Linked DNA regions of Homo sapiens: region 2 is linked to region 1. Evidence: promoter capture Hi-C in human tissues and cell types (Jung and others, 2019). All regions are on one chromosome and are shown on one strand. Each heading gives the region's core, a stretch centred on a gene start or on the middle of the fragment in contact. The rest is flanking DNA. Distances are from core to core; before and after follow the strand shown.

Evidence for each region. Contacts are between HindIII fragments. The study calls those that stand out against the background at their distance.
Region 2: a fragment that was not itself captured here is called in contact with the fragment with the promoter of PDE8B in region 1 in 3 of the 25 tissues and cell types used here (aorta, dorsolateral prefrontal cortex and heart right ventricle).

Annotation. Positions count from the first base shown.
Region 1 is chr5:77,207,647-77,214,012 of GRCh38, forward strand. PDE8B (phosphodiesterase 8B) reads left to right here and starts at 3,034. Exons shown (of 22, transcript NM_003719.5): 1 at 3,034-3,618. The coding sequence starts at 3,280. The HindIII fragment of the contact is 4,534 bases long and covers 1,041-5,574 here.
Region 2 is chr5:77,464,473-77,470,838 of GRCh38, forward strand. WDR41 (WD repeat domain 41) reads right to left here. Exons shown (of 13, transcript NM_018268.4): 3 at 289-337. Among named protein-coding and RNA genes, the nearest start is that of WDR41, 25 kb to the right of the region's middle. The HindIII fragment of the contact is 3,217 bases long and covers 1,647-4,863 here.

The DNA of each region.
Region 1 (6,366 bases), core at 1,784-4,283:
CAGTGGCAATTGGTTCAGAAATCTCTTCTGTGGGTCAGAACTCAGGCTTCAGAACTAAGCTGTGGAAATGATTTCAGTTAAACCATTTCCCCTCCACTTGCACACTTCTGCAAGTTTCAGCAGCCAGATCTGTTCCAGCAATGGGGGCAGGTTGCACATTCCCACTGAGAACACTTGGTGGAGATTATAAGGACACATTATTTTTTTCTTTCACTAAGCCAGAATTGGCAGTTGAAGATGTGTTTGAGCTACTGTCTGCTCTGGGAATGGGAAGAAAACTGTATACCTAGTGCATTTCCCCTTCTATCTTCTATTCCAACAAAGAAGTTGCAGTCAATGAAAGTCACTGGTCCTAATATGAACTGTTCAGTTAACCCACTAAAGCAGCCTAGTCCTATTCACTAGCTACCTTGAGGTCACCTACTCTTTCAAGGCTTAATTATTCTTATTTTTTAATGTAGAAAGTTCAACCTAAATTTGTTTCTGGGTGACTTCTAGCTTCATGATTCAGCTCCTAATGTTCTCCACCAGAAGATTGGTTGTAATTTCTGTTTCATCACAGTCTTCTTGCCTTTCAAAGCCTCAGTGAGTGACTGGTGCTTTTTTCTGGGTGGTTTCATTGCATTCCTAGAGAAAACTCTGAAAAAGTAGACATGTGTCATGAGAATATGCATGGCTGTAAATTTCAGTATGTGAAGGCTGTCATTGATAGCTCCATGAAAGGTAATGACTGAAATGCTATATGCATTATCACAGGTAAGCTTTAGGAATCATTAAACCCTGACTTGAACGTTACATCAGGGACTAGTATAGAGACTAGTGTTTTTGCAATTTAACTCTGATGTTGTTTTCCCAGGTCCTAAATTGTCCTTTGGAAGTAGAGCAGATGGTTGCTATGAGGCTTAGTTTTAAATGAATGACTGTCCCCATATCTCAGTCTCAGCCATTTAATGTGGTGTTCTTACAGGCATGGATGGGACAAGGAAACATGGATCTCAGCAGCCTGGAAGGGAACTGTGGGTGGAGGCTATGATGCCAGGAAAGGACTTACTCCTCCAGCTACTGGGAGTGCTGCCAGCAGAAAGCCCTTGGCTCAGCTGACATCTCCTAGGGGCAGTGCCTCAGCTGAAGAGAGCCACCTTGCCCAAGGTCGCTGAGGTGGCCTGCATGTAAAGACTGGTCCATGCTGGGGTATAAAGGCCCACCAGAACAACTCAGAACCCAGCCCCAACTCAGAACAACTCTGAAGCATCATCCCACCTTCAGAATCCTCCCTGCAGGGATGCCTGAGGCTTGGTCAATTTCTCCCTCTGCTCAAGCTTGCCTCCCTCCATTCCCTCCCTTTATTTCCTCCCACAAATGTTGACTACAAGAGCACTTCCTAAAAAGCCTCCCTCTGCCTGCTAAACACCATCTCAGAATCTGCTTCTAGGAGGACCCAACCTGTGCAGAAATTTTATGAGCAATTTGCCTGTCCATTAAAAAATACAGCATAGACTTTTTCCAGGTTAGCTGGAGATGGAGTTTTTTTGTATCAAAAAAAGAGAGCTAAACTGAGAAGAGAAGCAAAGGTAGAAGAATAAGGTTAGACTCTCCCTGTATAACTGAATTTGGGATTGGGAATGATATCTTGCTTCTCTATGAAATTTAGAAACTGTCTTTTGAAGTCTTCATCCAGTCACATCCAAGAGTGGTCCAGGAAGAAAAAGGAAAATAAGAATGAAAAAAAAACAAAAAACAAACCTTAAAATTGGATACTTCTTTGTGCCTTGCATTAAGCCTCTATGTTACTGCCCTTGTCCGTATAAGCAACTCTAGATAAAATCCTTTCTTAGACCATCTAATTTATCTCCCCGTGCCATTGTGAAAATCGGGCAGGAATTACTGCGGGAACCAGTGACTGAATGGGCAGTGGTGTCTCGCAGCTGTAACTCAGAGTTTACAAGGGAAGGATGAACAGCAGCCATCCTTCTAAAGGCATTCTTCCTCTCCTCCAGCACAGCTCAGTCTGTGCATGCCTCACCAAGGAGAATGAGGGAAGGCCTTGTTGACTGCCCAGCCCAGAGTGTGAGGAACAGCAGTTGACATGGGCGGCTGGACGGGATAGAAACCAGCATGAACATTTAGTGACACCTAAGGAAGAGGTGAAAATGGGGGAGAAAGCCAAGAACCATCAGACAGCTTCTTTCTGTTCTTGCCTTGGATCTTAGGGGAACGTATGTGTTCAAGGGTGCCTTCCTCCGCAGGGCCTCCCATCCCTTGGCACAAACTTCCAAACGATGAGTAGACATGGAATGGGCTTCTTCTGAAGACTGGGTCACCATCCAACTCAGCCTTCGGAGTAGGCGGTGGGGCTGGGGGAAGAGGACGGAACCATGAGGTCTCTCCATCACTTCCCGGGTGTGTTGAGAGGCAAGCAAATGCGGTGGGTGGGCCTGGGCTGTAGGGCCCCTGCCATTTCGGGAGGGGCCTCCTGGTGTTTAGCTCTGGGATGTGTGAAAATGTGTTGGTGAAAAGCGAGAGGCTTACACAGCCCTTCAGGGGAAGAGGGGCTGGGGCGCTGGGGGCGGCGTCGGGATGAGTGCAGAAGAGACGAGGCCTCTGGACAGCGGAGGAGGAGGGGAGGGCGCCGAGGCGCGGTGCCAGCTGCCGCGCACAGGGGCCCCGCGGCGGAGCCGAGCCGCGGGCACGCTCTGCCCTGTCGGGAGAGCTCCGGGAGCGGCGGGAGGGGCGGAGGGGCGCAGTGGGGCCCGGGCGGCTGCGGCCGCGGAGCCGGGGCACCTGAGGAGGAAGGAGGGTGGGAGCGAGGGAGGGAGGGGACGGGCGCAGACCGAAAGTGGGGAAAGAAGGTGCAGGCAGGCGGGCAGGCGGGCGGGCGCCCTGGCCCAGGGCCGCGGGTGCGGGAGCCCGGCGAGGTCGAGCTGGGCGGCGGCGGGGGCCGCGCCGAGGGAGGAGGGGAAGGCGGAGGCGCGGGGAGCGTGTTTGGGGCGCCGCGGCGGGGAGGGTGGCGGCCGCTGGTGCGCGCGGGGCGCTGTGTATGCGCGCTCCCCCGCTCGGGGAGGAAGATGGCCCAAAAGGGAAAGTTGGGGTGACGCGCGCGGTCCCCGGAGGCTCGGCGGGGGGCACCGCGGCCAGCCCGACGGAGCGGCGGACACACAGGCCGGGGGGCGCGCAGTCCGGGCGCCGCCGCGGCCGCCCCCTCACTGCAGGTGGCAGCGGGTGCGCTGGGTCCCGGCGGCCGCGGGCGCGGGCGGGCGCGCGGGGGAGCCCGGCCGAGGGATGGGCTGCGCCCCCAGCATCCATGTCTCGCAGAGCGGCGTGATCTACTGCCGGGACTCGGACGAGTCCAGCTCGCCCCGCCAGACCACCAGCGTGTCGCAGGGCCCGGCGGCACCCCTGCCCGGCCTCTTCGTCCAGACCGACGCCGCCGACGCCATCCCCCCGAGCCGCGCGTCGGGACCCCCCAGCGTAGCCCGCGTCCGCAGGGCCCGCACCGAGCTGGGCAGCGGTAGCAGCGCGGGTTCCGCAGCCCCCGCCGCGACCACCAGCAGGGGCCGGAGGCGCCACTGCTGCAGCAGCGCCGAGGCCGAGACTCAGACCTGCTACACCAGCGTGAAGGTAAATGCCCCGCGCTGGCACACGCCGTGGGGGCCGTCCGCCCCGTCGGCGGGGCTCGCACGGGTAGGGGGCTCCGGCGGAGTTGGGTGACCGTGAGGCGGTTGGTTTGGAGAGGTTGTCACTAAGGAGGAGTTTACTTTTCATTTGTGGAGATGATGGGAGCCCAGGAAATGTGGTCAGAAAAAGGCCCCTGGAGGGGTCCTGGAAGCGTCCTTAGCTGGTCCTGGGGGACTGGGCGGGGAAGGGAGCGCAGAAGGAAGCAGGTGGGCTGGCCTGTTCCTCCTTGAGGGCAGGAAGGCTGTGGCTTGGTTTATGCAGGAAGAGGGGTGGGGACCATTGAGAGCATTCGGTGGCCAGTCCTGTTGAATGAAATCTGAGCACTGAGCTGGATTTGCGTGCCTTGTAGGTGACTGGTGCAGTTGCAGCACCAGGATAGATAGTGCCCCATATTCCGATTTTTACCTGGGATTACCAGCCAGGCTGGAGTCTCAGCACAGGAACCGAGCGTAGGGATTTGTGAATGAATGAGTGTTCGTGTTTTAAGAGATGTGGGAACGGAGCAGAGTGGAACCTGTTGTTTGTCACTGTAACGTTTCTCTGGGTTGGCTGCATCCTAGACAGAATTGAGAGAACCGGGCCATGAGTTCGGAGTGTCAGCAGAGCCACCGTGAGGGGACGTGGTTTCCAGTGCAGTACAGCTGTCTGAGGATGATTCTGCACATACAACTGATCTTCCCAGAGAGTGGGATTTTGAGGAAGTGGAAAAAATTGTTTAGATGGTTAAAGCAGTCGCTAAATATTTATTTCTTAAAGACAGAAGAAAAATAATTATTTAAATAGTGTCCTCCCGTATGTTCTCAAAGTACCGTTAAATCCAAGAGGCTTTTCATTGTGTAAATCTGGGCACTGGGTCTTTTTTCCTTTCAGCAAACAAGATAACAATGGCATATCCTATTGTACAGAGAGAAAAAAATACTCCTAATGTCAGATAGAATCACAGCCTTTACCTGGTCAATAGGTTACCAAGAACCATTCCATGGATTATTTGTCAAAGACACATTTGTATTTTTAATAGTTAAAAACTTGGTCTTCATTGGATGAAGGCAGCCCACAGTGGAGGAGTGAGGAGAAGGATAACATGTTTTGGCTTCAATCTGGAAGTCCAAAAGTTTTTTAATGAACCTATTTTTTTTTTAACAGCATCTGATTGTTTAACATGAAGCTTGACTGATGTTTGCTTGTGGTTGCAGTGTTTCTCTGGCAGTAATCATAATCACCATTATAGTAAAAACATCGTTTATTGAGCACCTACTATGTGCCAGGAGTAAGCTTTCTCTCCTAACTATTGAATGTTAACAGTGTGATCTTAGCATAGCATGTCTGAAGACTAGAGTCTAGGATTTATGACAGTACAAACCTACCAGTTGCCCATTCGTTACAGAGGCATGTGCTGAACGCTATACTTTGCTTTTGTCAAGCTCTCTCTCTCTCCCCCTCCCTGTTCACACAAAGTTAGCTTTAGGAGCAATTTTCAGGGATGAAAATGTTAAATTTGGTGAAAATATTAAGTTGGGATATTATCAGTAAAGACCATCCTTTTGCCTGACGGTTGAAGACCTGAAGCAGTAGTTCAAAATTGTGACAGCTCATGAACTTTGTGATACTTTTTTTGGTTGCTCCAGAGAAATTGTGAATTTTTGTTTTCTAGAATATCTATAATCTCAGTTTAGTACTTGGCAACTCTAGCTACTCCATGTTTGTTCAGTAGAAGAAAGAATACTGAATGAACCCATTCTGTACATTTTTAATACTTCCCTCAAGAGGCTGCTTAGAGACCAAATGAAGTAAAAACTGAAGGGACAATGAGCCCCAATTATTAGCAGCTTGTATAAACTTGTATTAATCTCATTGCTACTTGGCTTAAGTATTAAAAGGCTTGACCTGGGTAGGAGTTTAACTCATTTTGCTTTATCAAGAAGATTCCCAAATAAGAGCTTAATTCACTCTAACCCATTACTGGGAATGTTGGAAATGAAACCCCTGGTTCATTGACTTAACACTACTTTGCATTGTGTGGATCTCAGAAAGTATATATTTGAAGTGAAATTTGAGACCAGAGTTATTTATGCAAATCTTACAGAATTATTATCACAGAACTGCCCTAATATATTTAATAGTATCCTTTTAGGCCTGTGACTCGGTGTTGTATTGTCTTTTCTCAATCGTAAAGTTCACATGTTCTGTGCCCTTTTGTTGCTGAGATAATTTTATAAAAACTTTACATTCATTTTTTTGTAGACTAAGCATTCTTTTTTTGCCGTAAGAGTTTGAGATAGTTGCTAGGCACGTGGTGGTGCCCCACCCCTTTCCAAAGCACACAGGTGGAAAAATAAAATCTTTACCATTTGGTCCTGTTTACAGTGGTGGAAGGTTGTAATAGTTTCCACCCCCTCCCCCTGGCCATTTTACATCAATTATGAAGTGTATCCTCATTATCTACTTGGCCTCTGGTATTCCCCAGAGTGCAAAAATGTGTGCTTGATCTCTCTCTCTCTCTTTTCTAGCAATAATTCATCTCATTAAGCTTTTAGAATGATGAGGCATTATGATGTCAAACATGATGTCAACAGGAACCTTCCTGAATACCTAATTTGCAAAAAAAAAAGGGTTATAAGCATTAATAATTCATATGCAGTACAATGATATCACATGGGTTTCCATTTCTGGTAAGAAGTTAGATTTGTCTCC
Region 2 (6,366 bases), core at 2,005-4,504, 260 kb after region 1:
CTGGCCCCAAGTTATCCGTTCGCCTTGGCCTCCCAAAGTCCTGGGATTACAGGCACGAGCCACCACACCCAGCTGGAAAAAAAATCTCAATTTAAAAAAACTTTCCCTCTTCATTATGAAATACTGGTCCCCACTGTATATGGATTTATCCTAATTAGCTCTTTTCAAATATTAATGTGTCAATTAACAGTGATATGTAAATGTATCCCCAGATAGTATTTATATGAATACATACTCAACTACATCATCATATCTTTATCACACAATCCACACATAATCAATACACACCTGGGCATTCCACACAACTACAATTCCATCATCACCAGCAGATGCAAATCTGGTTAGGGAGAAAGGGTCAAGAAAAAAAAATCACTGGTGACATTTAATTACTAAGATTAAGAACTATCAAACCTTATTAGTGGTATTTTGACTAATATTAACGAAGATCAAGTTATTTCAGCTAATTTAAAAAATATTTATGAAACACATTCCAGCTTCTGTACCAGGTATGGAAGATCAAAAGATAAATAAGACATTTATAAGTTTACAAAGAATAAACTGCTAGAAATGTAAAAATAATCTTTAAAGTCCTTCTTTGCTTTAAAATTCTATGATTTTAAGAAATCCCTGACTTAAGTGAAATGAAACCAAGCTGACAAGTGCCTTCAGTGACAGGAAGTGATATTCTAGGAAGTGATTACGATGTTAAATAAATTCATTACTTCTATTATTCTCTCTGTAAATAATTATTATTTAAAGTCAAGATCTCTCTTTTGCTCAGCTCAACTCCTTAGTCTTTCCACATAAATGCTTTGTTCTTGGTTTGGAAGATTTGAGGATTTTTTAGGGTTTTTTTGTTGCTTTTTAGTGAAGATGCTTGAAATGCACAGGTAAAGCTTGTCTTATGGCATGAAAAATGAGCTGTGATAGTCTGCTATAGCTTCTCTCTCCTTTTTATATCCCATTCACCATATCACAGGGACAATCACCAAATTCTGTAGAGTAGAAGATATTCTGAACATAAACACTATCAAAAGGAATAACCTGTCATACAGGATTATTCATCACCATATTATACTAAAATTCACCATCTTATTATACTAACGCAACAAAGTAGTATAAATAATCACATCATAAGCATGTCAAATAATTTACTGTTAATGTCATCCACAAGTTTGTAAATAATTTTTAATGACTCAGAATCAATTTAAAGTTGTCCCCATAATATTGCTTTCACTCAAATTCAGGCTTTTTTTTTTTTTCAGTATGAGAGAAAGAAGTGGTGTTAAAGAGAGCCAGCTATGAATGACATATAACTGGCCCCTTATAATTAACAGATGCTATGTGAGCATCTGTTCTAATGGATTTTTTACCCCTTTATGAGATAACAAAATCCCACTATTTCAGTCATGAAATACTTTCCTTAACACTCCAAACTGAGTTTCATGTTCAAATTTCTTATCTTCAGTTTCAAAGTTCAGTGCCTTCACTGGCTCAGACAATTCCAATACTCAGTTCTTATTTCAAAATCCTTTGAGTACATCTACTACTGGTAGAACCAAGATTATTCAGGAGACATGAAATTGATCAAATACAGTCTGACAGTCTTTTAATAATTTTTAAATACAGAACTACCTATCTTTTTAACAGAATGGACCTGTTAAATTTAGGTAACTAGCTAAAAATCACAAAGAGTTATTTTTAAATCCATGCCTATCATTTATTCTTATTTTAAAATGTAACATATAAAAGATCCGGAGATTAAAAAGAAAATGATCATTTTTAAAATAAAAATAGATTTCCTATGCTTAATTATCTACATTTTCTCAATCAGATTAGTAAATAGTACCTTGAATATCAAAAATAGTTGCTGGAAATAAATCTTTAGCAGCTTATGTTTCTGGGCCTATTGATTTCTTTTTATTTGTATAGTGATGGTGGGGAGGGCAGGACTCAAGGTCTTAAGTGTTCTTTGGTATAAAACATCAATTTCTATTGATTCTTTAAACTTAAAATTGCATTTAGAAGACAGCAAGTTTAAAATACATACTTTTTTTCTAACCCTAATTTTTAACTTCTTATGATTGTTTTATCATGTTTGACTTTCATGAGTTCACAATGAGAGATGACTGAGAACAGCTGAGAGTTTAGAAATGGGATATAGAGCATTTAACCTCAAACTTTAATTCAATCAGTAGGGAACAAAAGTTAAATCTAAATAAGGCTCAATAGTAATGCATGAAATCACAGTCAATTTTTTATTGCTGCAAGGTCAATTACCTGGTTGGTAGATTATTCAGGCCTTCTATTCTTATATATATTCTATTGCTACCATTTTTTTTTTTTTTTTGCCATTTCAGTATTTATTACTACCTCCCCTAAAGAGGAAACATTAAGCTTTAAAATACAAACCAGTATAACTTTGACACATATTAGTACCTGTCATAAAAAAACTAATAAAGGGTTGAGATATCATTCACAAATTACAATTACCCATCCTATTATGATGGATAACAAAAAACTAGCTATACTTTATCAGTTTATCTTAAACTAAATCCTAGTCAGTCAAGCATACACTTCAACCATCTCCAAATCAGAAATGGAAATACAACCCAAGAATTCCTAATTGTAAGGTATAGTGTAACTGCTGAAAAGAAGTAATGAACTATAAAATAAAAAAAGGATTAAAATGTCAATAAAGTTTAAGCTATTCTATCCAATGGAAGAATAGTAATATTGCCAGATAACATTTTACATACTAATTTTTAAAAACATTCTAAAGTAACAGAAAGCAAAAACTTAAGCCTAAAGATAAGATTTTGAGAGAAATGTTTCTTTACCGATTAGCAAAAAATGTATTCAGTGTGATTCCGTGCTAGGAGTTAGGGAAATGTGAAGACACCTTACATGTGGTTCTTGCTTTGAGATCTTAAAACTTTATGATTGTTTAGAAATGTACCGTATTTCATCAAATCTAAGACATCAATTGTAAGACACTCTTATTTTATTTACCATTAAGGAAAACATACTGCCAATTACAATTGAAACACACAATTATATGATGTGTCCAAATTTTAGAGATGTCAAAATAGAAAAAAATATGCTTCTTAGAATCATGAACTCTAAGAATTACCATATTTATTGATCTTTATCTTTATAACATGGCACTTGCCAGTCTAATGAATCTCTGATTATCTCTGGCAGGTTTTAAGTGCTAAAGAAATGCTTGTTGAATGAATAAGTGAATGCATAAGCAAACATTTAAGTGTTCAAGGGCTCTGTGAAATAGATTGATTAATGATGGCAATGTAACCCCATATTTTCCTTTTATCATAATTAATGTAAATATACTACCACAAAAAATAGAAACTTAAAAATTTAAAACCCAGAATCCCTACCACACAAAAATAAATTTCTATATTTTTTCATATTCCTGTCCAATTCTTATCCATATACTTCAGGTTTTTTCTTTAACTTAAAACCAAGTCCAAGATCACACCACTCTCCAGCCTGGACAACAGAGCAAGACTCCATCTCAAAAAAAACACAAAAAACAAAAAAAACCCAAGTTGTTAAAAATACTCCTTGAGACTACACAATTAAATGACTAAGCAAAACTTACATTCATGAAAAACAAGTTCAACAAGGTGAAACATGGTTTAACAAAGACCTATGGCAGACCTCCTAGAATGTTTCATCCTCTCATCCCCTAATTATGAGAACTAAATTTATTATGATAGTCCATAAGTCACTCGGTAATTCAATACTTACTAAGCACTAACTATATAGATGCTTAAACCTAAGAATAAAGATCAAGAGATTGTTCTTGCCATTCAAGAACTCACAGTCCAACATTACCATGTGATGCTATAGGGTCTAGATCATGAGTCCTTAGAGAATTCTCACTTACAACCATCTTAATGTATAAAAATAATTCCCTCTAAACATCTTCTCTTTGAACATCTCTGAGAAAGTATTCTCTCGTTCCTTCCAACAGTGGGCTGAAAACTACAGCAAAGCTTAATAAAGATTTGTAAAAAATAAATTGTTTTCACAATAATTCTTATGTCCAATAGCTAAATGCTCATTTAATAGTTCTTACTCATGTGAAGGCCTTTCAACTAAGTGAAGGTCCCAAAAATTCAAATGTTACCTTAAAGGACATAAAAAGTATAGTCCATAAACCTGAACCATAAATCTTCCTGTATTCAATGTCTACATAAGGCACTGAAAAAATAAAAATCTTAATACGACATTATTATGGCAGTACAGGCACCCCAGTGGTTAACTTTCCACCTAACCTGCAAGTACTTTCTAATGCATGATAAAACTAAAATACTATACAGTTTCCATGATCATCTCATCATTTTTTTTGTACAGTAAGACGCAGGATCTAAATAAGGTCTATATAGCACAACTGCTTGATATATCTCTAAAGTCTCTTTTTTCTATGGTTTTGTTCTCCATCTTTTTCTTCCTTGCAATCTTTTTGTTGAAAAAAGTTGTCTCTCTTCAACCCAAATGTCTATCAATGATAGACTGGATTAAGAAAATGTGGCACATATACACCATGGAATACTATGCAGCCATAAAAAGGGATGAGTTCACGTCCTTTGTAGGGACATGGATGAAACTGGAAACCATCATTCTCAGCAAACTATCGCCAAGGACAAAAAACCAAACACCACATGTTCTCACTCATAGGTGGGAACTGAAGAATGAGAACACTTGGACACAGGAAGGGGAACATCACACACCAGGGCCTGTCGTGGGGTGGGGGTAGGGGGGAGGGATAGCATTAGGAGACATACCTAATGTAAATGATGAGTTAATCGGTGCAGCACACCAACACGGCACATGTATACATATGTAACAAACCTGCATGTTGTGCACATGTACCCTAGTTGTCTCTCCTGTATAATTCTCACAGCCCAGATTTTGCTGACTACTTTCCTCTGTTGTCATCTAACATGCACCTCTGTATTCTGTATTTTTAGAAAACTGATCCTTAAATCTACAGACTTAATCCAATTCAAATCTGACTCTTTGGTAAGACCATTTCATAAGCAGTTTGTATACTCCATTAGGAAACAAATTTCTGGCAGTCATTTTTGCGTGTGTGTGATGTTAACACCCATCAATAATCACTGCCTGAAGTCATTATTACATTTACAATAAAATAACATTGAAAAAATGCTAAGGGTATCAGTGATGGAAGATCAAATGAATGAAATGAAGTGAGAAGAGAAATTTAGAGAAAAAAAGGATAAAAAGAAACAAAGCCTCCAAGAAATATGGGACTATGTGAAAAGACCAAATCTACGTCTGATTGGTGTAACTGAAAGTGACAGGGAGAATGGAACCAAGTTGGAAAACACTCTGCAGGATATTATACAGGAGAACTTCTCCAATCTAGCAAGGCAGGCCAACATTCAGATTCAGGAAATACAGAGAACGCCACAAAGATACTCCTCGAGAAGAGCAACTCCAAGACACATAATTGTCAGATTCACCAAAGTTGAAATGAAGGAAAAAATGTTAAGGGCAGCCAGAGAGAAAGGTCGGGTTACCCACGAAGGGAAGCCCATCAGACTAACAGCAGATCTCTTGGCAGAAACTCTACAAGCCAGAAGATAATGGGGGCCAATATTCAACATTCTTAAAGAAAAGAATTTTCAACCCAGAATTTCATATCCAGCCAAACTAAGCTTCATAAGTGAAGGAGAAATAAAATACTTTACAGACAAGCAAATGCTGAGAGATTTTGTCACCACCAGGCCTGTCTTAAAAGAGCTCCTGAAGGAAGCACTAAACATGGAAAGGAACAACCGATACCAGCCACTGCAAAAACATGCCAAATTGTAAAGACCATCGAGGCTAGGAAGAAACTGCATCAACTAACAAGCAAAATAACCAGCTAACATCATAATGACAGGATCAAATTCACACATAACAATATTAACCTTAAATGTAAATGGGCTAAATGCTCCAATTAAAAGACACAGACTGGCAAATTGGATAAAGAGTCAAGACCCATCAGTGTGCTGTATTCAGGAAACCCATCTCATGCACGGAGACACACATAGGCTCAAAATAAAGGGATAGAGGAAGATCTACCAAGCAAATGGAAAACAAAAAAAGGCAGGGGTTGCAATCCTACTCTCTGATAAAACAGACTTTAAACCAACAAAGATCAAAAGAGACAAAGAAGGCCATTACATCATGGTAAAGGGATCAATTCACAAGAAGAGCTAACTATCCTAAATATATATGCACCCAATACAGGAGCACCCAGATGAATAAAGCAAGTCCTTAGAGACCTAGAAAGAGACTTAGACTCCCACACAATAATAATGGGAGACTTTA